2 separate regions of the Homo sapiens genome follow, and region 1 is linked to region 2. The links are contacts of gene promoters, found by promoter capture Hi-C in blood cells and fetal thymus (Javierre and others, 2016). All regions are on one chromosome and are shown on one strand. Each heading gives the region's core, a stretch centred on a gene start or on the middle of the fragment in contact. The rest is flanking DNA. Distances are from core to core; before and after follow the strand shown.

The links. The method cuts DNA at HindIII sites, captures the fragments that hold promoters and counts their contacts. A CHiCAGO score of 5 or more calls a contact.
Region 1: a fragment that was not itself captured here is called in contact with the fragment with the promoter of IFNA8 in region 2 in 1 of 17 cell types (naive CD8 T cells); the score reaches 6.1 in naive CD8 T cells.

The regions. Positions count from the first base shown.
Region 1 is chr9:21,796,049-21,802,744 of GRCh38, reverse strand. It overlaps MTAP (methylthioadenosine phosphorylase), which reads right to left and starts at 109. Exons shown (of 8, transcript NM_002451.4): 1 at 1-109. RefSeq lists enhancers at 1-599, 600-1,230. The HindIII fragment of the contact is 1,700 bases long and covers 1,286-2,985 here.
Region 2 is chr9:21,405,066-21,411,910 of GRCh38, reverse strand. It overlaps IFNA8 (interferon alpha 8), which reads right to left and starts at 2,794. Exons shown (of 1, transcript NM_002170.4): 1 at 1,726-2,794. The coding sequence starts at 2,734. The coding sequence ends at 2,165. The HindIII fragment of the contact is 19,531 bases long and covers 1-6,845 here.

The sequences.
Region 1 (6,696 bases), core at 886-3,385, 390 kb before region 2:
GCACGGGAAAGGAATCTGCAGTGGGCGAGCGCTCGGGACTAAGGGAACCAAGCGAGCCACAGAGCGGTGGCTGTGCCAACCTCACTGCGCGGGAGTGAGCAGTGCGGAGACCAGGGGCGGGCCTTGACTCCTCCTCTTCCTCCCCGGGACAGCTGGATTGGCTGCTTGTGTGGGATCTCCCCCGCCACCCCTTCCCCAAATCGAAGTTCCCGCGTTCCGCCCCTTTTGCAGACCTTTCCGGTTCTCCAGGTTTTTGTCGTTTTTTTTTTTTTTTTATCCCCAGTTATAACTAACGGATAATGATAATAATGGAGACCATTTATAGAGCGCTGTATTGTTCCAGACTGTGTGTTTTGCACTTTAATTGGCTTACTTAACTTTCGCTAAAACCTTATAAGGAAGAGCAGCACTCCCTGCTTGGCCCAATATTAGTGGCGTCGGAGGCCTCAGCTGCAAAATCTGGCCCGGCGGCATTCCAGAAGTTCTCGCGGGAGGGAGAATCCTCACCAAGGCGGGTACTGGCCGGCCACGGAGATTCTCTTAGGCAGCTAACGCGGGGCGGCCGCCGCGGCGGGGGCAAGATTTGTCCTTCCTGCGGCTGCGAACCCACCGCGGGTTTGCGTATTTCCCTTGATTCCTGGAGGACAGAGCTGGGATGGACTTGACCCAAGACTCAGGGATGACGAAAGGGAAATAAACAGAGTAACGTAGTACTGGATAATCTTTCTGATTTACGAACTATGATTTACTCATCTTCAATTTGAGGGGCCGCTTTTAGGGGGTTGAGACCTTGCACAACTCCCAGTCTGGCTCTACCTGGCTGGGGGCATCTTTAACCCGTTCTACGCCGGAGCGGCATCGAATACACCTGGATTCAGAATCCAAACTCAGGTCTCCGTCATTCAACACTAGCAGGACGCACACACACACACACCACGAGCCCTTTACAGGGATAATCCCTCATGCTTACAGCCCCCGTCCCTTCCCTACTGGGGTAATCCAATTTAACCTTCCTTGATGGATTAAGCGTTCTGAAACAAAATAATGGGTGGCAAGGATCTTAAGGGTGGACTCTGAGATGTAGAAATGCTGCAAATTAGCCTGGACGTGGGAGGAGGGCCGAGAAAGGGGATGCTTTCCTCTTTCCTTACAGCAGCAAAACACGGAAACAAAACACAAGTACAATTTAATTCAAAATACCACTGTGTGATGTTAGCCTGGATGCTGCTCATAGAACCTATTTACTTAAACAGTATAGACTTTCGTCCTCACATTACTATAAGCTTTAGGTCTAAATTTTCTCACAATGTAAAGTTTTCTTTCTTCTGTTACAATCATCTATTTCTTTTAAGTTATAAAATGCAATGGCAAAAGAAGAATGAAAGTAGAATCCGGGTGCTCCTTTGAGGAATAGGAGACAGGGAATCCTTCGCGGATGAAGACAATGTAGCTTTCTAGGGGCCTTTCTGCCGATTGCTCTATTGAGGAGCAGGAAGCCCACCACTCAGAAGTGAACCATTGAGGGCACAGGGATGCCCTAGGCTTTATGGCCGCTACCTAAGTAGGGGATCCTAGCCAACTTAAGTGACTTGATATGGTTAACAAGTCCAGTTTCTACTCAGCACTGCCTCTCTGCTAAAAGTTAGACGTTGTAACCAAGTTAGATCCTGTAAGCATAAAATACCCCTAGGCATAGGAGTTGGAAACTTGGCGAGGACCAGGCTGGACTTCTGGACTTTTCTACTATAACTTGCAGGTTAGGGCTCAAGCATTTGCTCTTGAAGATGTGATGTCTGTGAAGAGGAAATTCTTCTAAAGTTTGAATTTCATGTAAACTTACATGTGACAAAATATTATTCTACTTTTGATATTTTCTCAACCACTTAAGATTGTAAAAAAGCATTCTCAGTTCAAAGCTGTACAAAAACAGGTGGAGAGCTGGGTTTGGTCGAGGTCTTGGGCCATTGTTTTCCGCTCAGGGTAGTGCCTGAATCAGACGACCCCTTGCTACCCAGACTTGGATAACCCTTGGGCAGTCCTGTGGGACAGTGCTTTCTTTAGTGCAGTATCTTTGAAAAGGTAGGCAGTAATATTTTTGCCTTATTTCCAAATTTTGGGTCATGTTTTTTCTTAACAAGCCCTAAAATAAAAGGAAGACAAAATTTTCAATAATTTTGAATACGCAAAAATTTTCAGTGGTCTCCCTTTTTGATTACTATGTCAACAAGACAAGGAGAGTCGGTCTATTTGTGAACATAGATTTTGCCCTGCCCTTCTGTTCTTATCCTATAAATCCCCCTCTGTTAACCTGTACCCTTGCTTTTCTAAAGATAATTATCAAGAACTAGGTCACCTTACAACAATTCTGATTATGAAACAGTATAAGGATTCCAACAGCTTCTCCCTTTTTGATAATCTCTCATAAATGTCTTCCCAACTTCTAGGTCCTAGCCAACAAAGTACTGAAATGGTTATCACCAGTAGCTGACTATGTTGGGTCTTGAGCAGTGGTTCTTCAGTGTCCTACAGTTCCCTTTTACTAAACATGTTATTTTTGAAGTCGTCTCCAAACCATTCCAGAATCATCAAATCTTCAGGAGGAAGTATTCACACAAATGCATGAAATGTATCACCTCAGCCAACCATATCAGCTTTCCCACTGAATTGTTATATTTCTGCCCCTGACCAGTATGTCTGTCCTGGATGGGTACTACAAAATGGGCCCAAGCTGGCTGGTAACCCATCCTCATCTGAAGGTATTAAAGCTGGCAAGTTGTCATGGCCTAAGAAACTCACATAACTCCCCACTACCTTGTAGATATTTGGGCCAAAATAAAAATTCTAAATAACATGGAGGTGTGCTTAGAGATCCCCAATGGTGTGTGAATCACATCTTTTTACAATACACCTGTATCACAGCCACAATGAGTAGGGACATTTTGGCCACTACTTTTGACAATGGATTAGATTCCCACATTGGAAGCTTTGTGAAAAAGCTAAAGTTCTATTAGCAAGCAGCCACTCTAGATTTAGCAGAACATTGTTGAAAAAATATCTGGGGGAACAATAAGTAAACTAATTATAATAATGACAGTAATACATTTTAAAAATTATTGCATCTTCAGATTCTCAGCCAGGCAAGCCTATGCCAGCATGAAGAAGCCAAAGATGTCTGAACTGGTATAAATTCAGGTTCAAAATCCACAACATCATCGTTGTGCACAGTGTGGTCATTGGGAAGAAAAAAGTTAAACTCAGAGACTCAATGCCCTTAATAAAATTGTATCCAAAGAAACTTCTCCACAGGCAATTATCAGAATAATCAACTTCTCTTTATCCTGCCCAAGAAGGAAAAAAAATGTACTGAAAAGAAAATAGTGGCTAGTGTTTATTAAGAAGCAAAAGATATGCAAGTATGTACCAGGCCAGTCCTAAGGTACCCTTCTGAAAAAACATTGAATATAATTGGATAAATGTATAAGAGATTTGTCTGCAATCCAAGTTCTCTTAACACTCTTGATTGTAAATAACTGAACAAATTATTGATCTAAAAAATACAGCTATGTGTCTTTACCCTGACTCTGCAGTATAGACCATGATACAACATAAACATTAACATTTTAGTAACTAGAGACTTAGATATTTTTGTCATAGAAGGCCTAATTGAACCTTTCTAAATTTCTTATAGGTTAGTATGTGACTATTACTCTAAAACTTTAAGGAAATAAGAACAAAAAACAAAGAGAAGTGTTCCATTCTCCCATTATCATAGTGATAAAACAAAATAAGTAGTATGTCACAAGTGAAGAAAATATTACTGAAATCTAATATTAAAAATGCATTTATTGCAGGTACTTTATAGAGGGAATTGCAAGTGATATACTAGGTTTCTCAAAAAATATTTACATCACATTTTAGGTGGCAATTCCTTATAATGACCTTTAATGAAAGTGGAGAGTCCAGTTATAAAGTGTAACCTGGCATCTGTGTTTTTGGTTGAGGGAAGAACCCCATGCTTTAAAATGAGTTAAGTAGGGTCAGTTTTGACAGTCTGCTTTAAAGTTGGTATGCTCCAGATAGTTGGAATTAGCCATATGTTTCTTGTTGCAATAGAATCAAGTTCTCCTTCAGTTTTCTTTATTCGTTCCTTCTATTCAAAGTCCCTTTTACCCTAGAAATATCCTTCATTGCAAATCACCTTGTCTTGTCTTCAAAGTTCACTTCAAATTGTATCTCCCCTATCATTTCTGAAACTCTACTGAAGATGACTTAAGTTGCATATAATTTGGATTTTTTGAAGTAAAATCTCACCATTTTTTCACTTTTCTTAGATTAATGCTGCACATTAAAAGCATATTCAGGTTAACAGAATGGCCATCTACCCTGGACTCCCAGGATCTTCACATACCTATTATAAATAATAATAGGTATTATTATTTCTGTTATAGGATAAGCAAAGTGTAAGATTAAGCCCTGAACCCTATACCTCCCTCAGTGAAAGAGAGAGTATGTTCAATCTTGATCTGAAGAGACATGATTCTCAGCTTCTGTGCTTTGTATAGAAAAGGGCCAAAAAGTAATAGATACCCAGATGTATTTTAATATCACAGATGCAACATAATCTCTGCTTAGCGTGTCAGGATCTAAAGCTATGATGAAAGACCCATATAATGAGCTCTTATGTGACCCACTGCTCTTTATTCCACTTTAAAAACTTAAGGCAGGAAATAAGTCTAAAAGCATTGCTTTTCTTCTCTGGCAAATCCATATGTTGTCTGTACATACAATCCTAAAAACAAATTGGGAACAAAGTCATATTTGTCTTCTGAGCATCTTCAAGAGCAACAACAAAACAGCTAATATTTATTAAGAGCCACATATTCTTCATTTAATCCTCACAGATATTAATGTCATTGCTATTAATGTAATTTCCATTTTACAGAGGAGGAGAGAGAGAGAAGTTGAATTGCTGTAACTTCATCTTTTCTGCTTATTTGCCTCTCCCCAAAGCTTCCTTGTCCGTTTGGAATCTTCAGGACTTCCCTCTCTCTAGCCCATCAAAATGTCAATCAAACCTATCAAACCTGTTAAGTTGCCAAAATCACCTTAAAATGTTACCTCACCCAGGGGTTTATGAATTTTACAGGTATTAAGCCTTAAATTGAGATAATTAAATTCTAGGTAGGATGTGATGTTTGAGAAAGGACAAGTGTTGGTGTTATTATCACTATCATTGCATGAGGAACATGAGGCTCAGAGCATTTAAGAAGTCTTCTCAAATTTATATAACTAAAGTAATTGAGATTCAGTCCTGAATCTGTCCTAATTGCAAAGTCTAAACTCTTGATTAATTATTATTTTTTCCACTGTTGAGATTCAGATAACAACACCCCAAAAAGGAAGTCCTCAGAAGCAGCCTCAAAAGCGAAAGTTTTTCTCTGACCTTCTCCTGCCTGTCTTTCACGCCCATTATCCCCCTGATGCTACCATAGAAACTAGAATCCTTCTTCCCCAAGGTGGATAATAGAAACCAGAAGATCTTTTCCCTAAAGCCAGCCGTAAAACCTAAACATATTTCTCTAACCTTCCCTCTGCCTTTCTGTGTGAAGGGTAAGAACCAAAAGATATGCGAATATGGCCATGAAGAAATTGTCTGACCTATCTTGTTTGACTGTGGGTTATAATACCCCCATTCCAGAGAGAGACCTGACTCATACCCATAAGGAAGGAATCCTACACAGAGAGGCCAAGAAGAATCTAGACAGACAGCTTTGCTGGGTTTCCCCACTCAGTCTGTTAGCAGTATGTCATGCCCTTTTTGTCCAATCATATTTCTACATGGCTGTCCATACTTTGTTGAACCTGTGGAATATAAATCATTAAGCCAAGGGAAAAAATGACTAAGCCAAGGGAAAAGTCAAGCCGGGAACTATGTTAGACAAACCTGCTTCCCGTTTTATTCCTGGAAGAGATAGCTACAAATATAAGAAGCTACATACCTCCCTCACAATTTGCCCAAGGAAATTCCTTGTGGACGAAAGACAGACAGAACTCAAAGTAATCCCTCTGAGGCTCACCTGAGACAAATGCATATCTGATTGCTTTCTCTGCCCTATTGTTTATGTAAAAATGCAGATTCACTGAACCAGACTAAATTGTGTATGCAGTGGAAGGCCGATCGTGGACCTGAGGCTGTGTCACCGATGCATCCTTAACATTGGGCAAAATTATCTTTCGAAAGTGACTGAGACCTGTCTCAGATATTTTGGGTTAACAAAGCTAATCATAAAAATGGAAAATTTTCCCTGGATCTTTGGGTCTTCATTCTGAAGGCTCCCATGTGTTCACATGAAATAAATTTGTATGCCCTGTCTCCAACGGGAAAGTTTCTCTACACCATCATGTTCTGGTCCTTAAACTTAGTGCTAAGAGGGAAAGATGTATGATCTATATAGTCTCTGAGCCCTTAAGAAACTCCTGATCTGGTGAGAAGAGTCAGAAAGAGAAGTCAAATATTATAAAACAATGTGATAAGGGTAAATTTAGATACTGTGAAAACACAGAGCTGGGCATCTTTTAGAGTTTTCCTGGAGAAAGTGAGTCTTAAGGGATGAGCTAAGAAATTAGAGAGGTGAGGGGTGTGTGTGTGTTGTTAGCGGGGAAGTTGGGTATGAAGGAAATTGAAGTGCAGGAGAC
Region 2 (6,845 bases), core at 1,545-4,044:
AGGAAAATACCTACCATAGTTTAACTCCTTATTCGATAAAAGATATTATCGTAGGTGCTTTAAAATGCATGTGTTCCTTTAATACTCACAACTATATAAATATTTTGAAACCATTTTATTTATGAGAAAACTAAGGCTCTATGAGAAAACTAAGGCTCAAAGAGATTAAGCAGAATGATCAACAATACACCTACCTCCCAGCAGAATGAAATTTCAGTATCAAATTCTTTAATGTAATTGATGGGTGATTTTGTCAGTTTTGTATTCCAGATTTCTGTCATAATTGCTAAATCTCCTTTTATTCATGAATTATACATAACTCTTCCTTGCTCTCTGAATATGCGTGGTTCATGTATTTTCACTTGATGTTGACCAGTTTTTTTCTTTACCTTACGTATTGAGAAAGAAAGTCTCTGATTGTTTCCCACTTTTATTTTGTGAAGGATGTTTGTCAGTCTTTATGTCCATAGTAATTCGGTTCTTTCTGGATTGATCTAAGACTACAATATTCATGAAATCAGGAAGAATTACCAAAGTGTAACATAAAAGAATTCTTATATCTAGCACTACAAGAAATTAAGATGGATTGTAAAGGTGCAGAAGAACTGTAGTAAACCAGTGTGACAATGATGCAAGTTAACAACAAATAAGGCCAATACTTCCAGGTGTCATTATATTATCATCATTAATTATTTCGGTGAAGGATCGAATTAGTTATCTCTTACTCCCTAACAGATGAACAGAAACTAGGTAGCTTACTGATAGCCAAAGTAGTATTAATTAAAACAATAATAAATTATAATTGTAAATAATATATCATGATTTAAAATAATATATTAAGTATATTAATATGATTTGCTAGTACATCAGTTACATGAAATCTATCCAGAAAAATATTAATAAAGGAAATACTATGCACAGAAAAAGTAACTCACATTCTTTCCCCCATCACATCCTATTTTTTTGCCCTCTTCAGAGTCACTAACTTCTCTTATTTATACTTCCAGCCACTACAGTATGGTTTGTTCTGATTTATTTTACCATAATAACTCTCATAAGGTTGCCAGTGCCATCTATTTTCCCGAGGTAGTGGACAGTTTCAATGTATATCTTCTGTAAATCTACTGATAACTCTTTTAAGAATATTAATTTTCTTAAACTTTTTTTCCTAGTATTTTCTCCTGTTGTCCTTCTAATGTGTGGCCTTTCCATCTGTTTCTTTGTGGCTCTTCTCTTTCCTTTCTTAAGTGTGGAAGGTCCTCAGAATCACGTTTAAGCCATTTTCTCCCTCGACACTCTCTCCCCACATGAGATCCTCCATTTCTGGGCTTTCAGTTACTGCATATGAACCTCTAGCAATTGCATTCCTTATTAATTGCAAACTCATATATCCAACTGGTAGTGCACATTTTCACTTAGATGTCTACCAGTTAGCATATAGAGGATATCTCTGCGTTTATTTTTATTTCCTCACATGCCTTGGTCTACCTTCTGGTGAGATAAATTCATTGGTTCTTTCTTCTCATGATAGCATTAGACATAACTGATATTAAGTATGATTACTGTTTTTAGTTTTCTTTCCCAACAAAAAACAAAGATATGAGAGAGCGGGAATTGTATTTGTTATGTTCACCTGGATATCTTGAGGGCAACATACAACCTAATTTAGACAAAGTTCATTTTTACTTATAATTTGAATGTAATAAGCATGGATAAAGGAATTGTACCATCCATTCTTTAATCAGTTTGCACAATCAGGGTTGGAGTTCAATTTTAAAGAATAAATAAAGAATTTTTCTATAGTAAAAATTTAATAAACAAGGCAAAATAATAAATATAAAGAACATGTTTTTGTTACACAATTCACAATGTAAAAGTTCACATAATATAATATGAACAAAACTAATTTAAGCCCTATAGATAGTTAACTAAATAAAGATTTAAATAAATAGATGAATAGATCCATCAGCATGGTCATCTGTAAGGGACTAGTGCCCATACAGCTGAACAGGATGTTGCTTAACACTCCTGAAAACACTTGACACATTTGATTCAATTCATAGCATGGTTTTGGCAGAAACAAGGGTCTTTGAAAGAGCACAACTTGTCGAAGTGTGAGCTGCTGTATTAGTCTATAAGAATCATTTCCGTGTTGTACCAGGTCTCATTCCTTACTCTTCAATCTTTTTTGCAAGTTGATTGATAAAGAGAAGGATCTCATGATTTCTGCTCTGACAACCTCCCAGGCACAAGAGCTGTATTTCTTCTCTGTCAGATATAGAGTGATTCTTTGGAAGTATTTCCTCACAGCCAGGATGGAGTCCTCGTACATCAGGGGAGACTCTATCACCCCCACTTCCTGCATCACACAGGACTCCAGGTCATTCAGCTGCTGGTCAAGTTCGATGTAGAATTCATCTAGAAGGGTCTCATCCAAAGCAGCAGATGAGTCCTTTGTGCTGAAGAGGTTGAAGGTCTGCTGGATCATCTCATGGAGGACAGAGATGGCTTGAGCCTTCTGGAACTGTTTATCATCAAACTCCTCCTGGGGGAATTCAAAGTCATGTCTGTCCTTCAGGCAGGAGAAAGGAGAGATTCTTCGCATTTGTGCCAGGAGTATCAAGGCCCTCCTGTTACCCAGGCTGTGAGTCTGAGGCAGATCACAGCCCAGAGAGCTGAATGACTTGTAGCTGAGCACCACTAGGGCCACCAGTAAATAAAAAGTCAAGGCCATTGTAGATGTTGTGGATGCTGCTGAGCTGGTTCAGATGGATGACCCTTAACCTGGGTCTCTGAAGACTTTGGTTTGTACACCGCCTTATATAGGGAACATATTTGTTTCCATTTTCTGAATGCTACTGCATTTTTTTTTTCTACTTCTGTTTTTGCTTTCCTTTATGTACTCTCTACATGGGCTTAGGAAAGTGTTTCTCAACCAGTTTTCTTTTCATTACTGCATTCCCTTTCTCAACCTCCAGAGTCCTGTTTGATAATTTTTTTCTAAGTAAACCCCTCCTGATAATTTAATAACACAGATATATTATGCACATATTTGAATGTACTACATTCCTATCCATGCTTTAGAAAACAAAGTGGACAGTTTACTTTTTTATGCAATGCAGCATTAAGAATAAGTAAAAATTTTATGTCAAAAGTTAAATTTAAAAGCTATTGGCATTTAACTTTATAAAAGTTATTTGCTGAGTGACTTCTAGTATATATACTTATATAAATATTAATGAATCAAGTGAAACATGCAAAGTTATAATATATGAAAATATATAATACCAATATAATAAAAATACTTATATAAAATATGTAATATCAAAAAAATAAAAATACTTAAAAATCTCCCAAAACTGCTAAGGGGCTATTTAAAATTAAATTATTCCTGTAACATTTAATTTATTATACTTAACTTTTAGCTTTGCTTCATATAGAAAATGATTTTTACCTTCACTAACTGCTAGATTTTCATCCAGATATAGTCAACATATTTTTCTTTTCAGCACTTCCTATAAGTAGTGATGTTTGAAAAAGTTTTATACAATTTAATCATAAAATAAAAACATTTGTATAAAAGAGTATAATACACTTGAAAGCACTGAGGATCAAACATAAGCTACATACCCAAGACAGCCAATGGCAGCCCATTCATATGCCGATGGAGACCACATCACATGGTATGACTCTGAGATTGAGCACATAGTGGAAAGTCCACCAGTGACAACCATCTATTTCACATTGGTTTGCAACACTAATCTCACATACATTTTGTGTATCTTCCATGAACTCAATATCAGTCTTTTCATGTAATACATAAGAAAACCAAGTGAAAGAAAATAAACACTACAGGATAGGGTTGTCTTAGAGTTCTGCATTGAGGGGCCATAAACGAATATAATATCTACAATTTGTTCACACCACAAGAACTAAGGTTTGTGCCCTTAGGAGCAATATCATCCCCAATGAGAATACACAATTGAGAAAACATCAATTATATTTTTCAAAACAATTTTTGCATTAATGTTTAGATTTCCCAAAGAACCTGGGGACATCCCAATTCTAGTTCATTCTTATAAAATAAAAAAAGCCATCTGTTTCCTAAGGTAAATAATAATATCTAAGTATGATAAAGTAAATGAGGTGTGCAATTGTTGTACATAGCATGCAGGATACCAGATATCTTTCTCATTTCCTTTTTCACAGAAAGCAAAAGTTGTTGCTTTTTGTATCCCAATAAATGAGAGCAAAAAGAAAACAAATGTATAACTAAATGTGATAAAAACATAAGAATGGAAGTAACATCCCAAAGGAGAAAAACAACTAACAAAATATAACTTGGATATTCAGCCCAGATTAGATGGACATTAAGGGGTGAGGAAGAGCAGAAGCAAAATGGTGCAAGAGATGTAGAACAAAGGTAGCAAATGGGCAGGAGCTCAAAGAAAAGTAATCATTACTGGTCCAAGGGGATGTTTTCAGCTTTAGTGAATTCAGCCTTACTAGACAGTTGAGGGTGATGAACCAAACATAAGACACTGTGCACCAGAAAGGCAAATTTGTAAGAGCACAATATTCTGTCTGTAGAATGGACAAGTATAATTATCTCAAGTTCTCCACTAGTAGACAGATAAACTCAGAAGATCAGTATATTGCATGTTATCTGTTGTGATGGTTAACATTGAGTGTTATCCTGATTGAATTGAAGGATGCAAAGTGTTGTTCCTAGGTGTGTCTGTGAGGGTATTGCCAAAGGAGATTAAAATTTGAGTCAGTGAACTGCGAGAGGCAGACCCACACTCAGTCACTGTGGGCACCATCTAATCAGCTGCCAGCATGGCTAGAATTAAGTAGGGAGGAGAAGATGGAAGAGGAGACTTGCTGAGTATTCTGGCCTTCATCTTTCTGATGGATGCTTCCTGCCTTTGAAATCAGACTCCAAGTTCTTCAGCTTTTGAACTCTTGGACTTACACCAGTGATTTGGAAGGGGGTCTCAGGCCTTTGGCCACAGACTAAAGGCTGCACTGTTGACTTCTCTACTTGGGAGGTTTTGGGACACGGACTGATCCACCACTGGCTTCCTTGCTCCTCAACCTGCAGACAGCCTATGGTGGGACTTTACCTTGTGACCGTGTGAGTCAATTCTCCTTAATAAACTCCCTCTTATATATAAACATATCTTCTTAGTTCTGTCCCTCTGGAGAACTCTGACTAATATATCTATCTAACAAGAAGCCAGGGAATAGATGATCTCAAAGGAAACTTATCTTGACTTAAAAGGACAATAATGATAACACTAATAAGAAGAATAAAAAGTTGCTAAATTTTATCATGTTTGCTATCAATCAGATATTGTTCTTAGCACTTACAAAAACTATTTTCACTTCATTCAATGAGAAATACCCTCATTTTCATTTTTATTGAACATCTACTATATGCCCATCCCTACTTAGTTGCTAGAGATATCAGTGACCAAAGCAGACACTGACAGGTTGTACTGTTGTCCTTTTTTACAAAAGGAAAACCCAGAAGCACAGGGAGCTATTGAGTTGTGGAGCTACAGTTGGAACCCAAAACATCTGACTCTAAATCCTCATTTCTTACATGTTCCCTGGGAATTATTTCTGGCCATAAGACCCAGAGCTGGTTTCTAGACCCCGGTCAATGTTTTCTTAGTACAGTTCTACATAAAGAAGGTCACGGCCTTTCTTTTCAGCTCCTTCACCCTCTCCCTCACTGAAAAGCCCTATTTGTTTATGCCTGATATGTTACATTATAATAAAGATGGGCCCCAATTTATTTACATGTTATATACTAGTTTTGTTTTTTTGAGAATGTATATTCATAAACTTGAATGTAGTTGCAAAACTCTTTGTTCACCCTAGTAATATATCCATAAACAACTCCGTAAAAACCTGCATATTTCTATCCTTTTATTCAAATATCCGTAAGGCCTTAGATTTCTATCTTAGCCCAAGTTTAAGACTAAGCAATGACAAGCTAGAGACATGAGCTAAATCAGAACTAAACCAATGAACTAAGGCTCAGAGCTCAGGGAGACCACATCTAGAAGGGCTCACTAAAAGGATTAAAAGTGGGAATGGAAGGTCTTCTGGAGAAATGAGGAGAGTCCAGTGTATTATAGGAGGAGGACTGTGATACCAAAGTCTCTGAGTCACCTGACTTGCCAGCTGGTTGATGCCTTTTATGTTGCAGGCCAGCAGAGTTTGCTGCTGAGTTAATTTTACCACTTGTTTTGAGAAACCGGGCAAACATGATGGGCAATATATGGAGAGAACTAAAGAAATGGGGTTGGAAAAAAATAACGTGTTTGCATAGGTGGAAAGATACTTGCTAAAAACAGGCCTAGAATTGGAGCAAACTATGCCTTTACTCCTTCCGTTTGGCCTTCCATTTTTTTAAGTGTGTCTTAAATAATGTGATAATTATGTCGCCTTATCCAGTGATTTTTTAAGATTCTCCTTGTACAAAAAATAGATGAATGACCATTTGCTTCTTGTTATCTCCATCCATTTTCCATGTGATAGTGAGGTCCATTTCTGTTTGATTTCCAAAATTTGGCATGTAATATTCAAAGTGCTACTTCAGGTGAAAAAACCGTGATTTTGGATTTTGAGTCCTTGGTCAGATGTTTTTGCCTGGTAGTGTTCTTATTCTCCCTTAGGCATGGTTATAATTTTCTCTTTTTTTGCTGTCTGAGATGTTGCCTTTAGTGATCTGACCTATTTTCTCTTTAGAATATTTTATCAGGACTCCATAAGATACTTATGGGCAGACACGTCATCTTATCTAGTCTTTTTCCCTGGCATCTTGGCCCAGT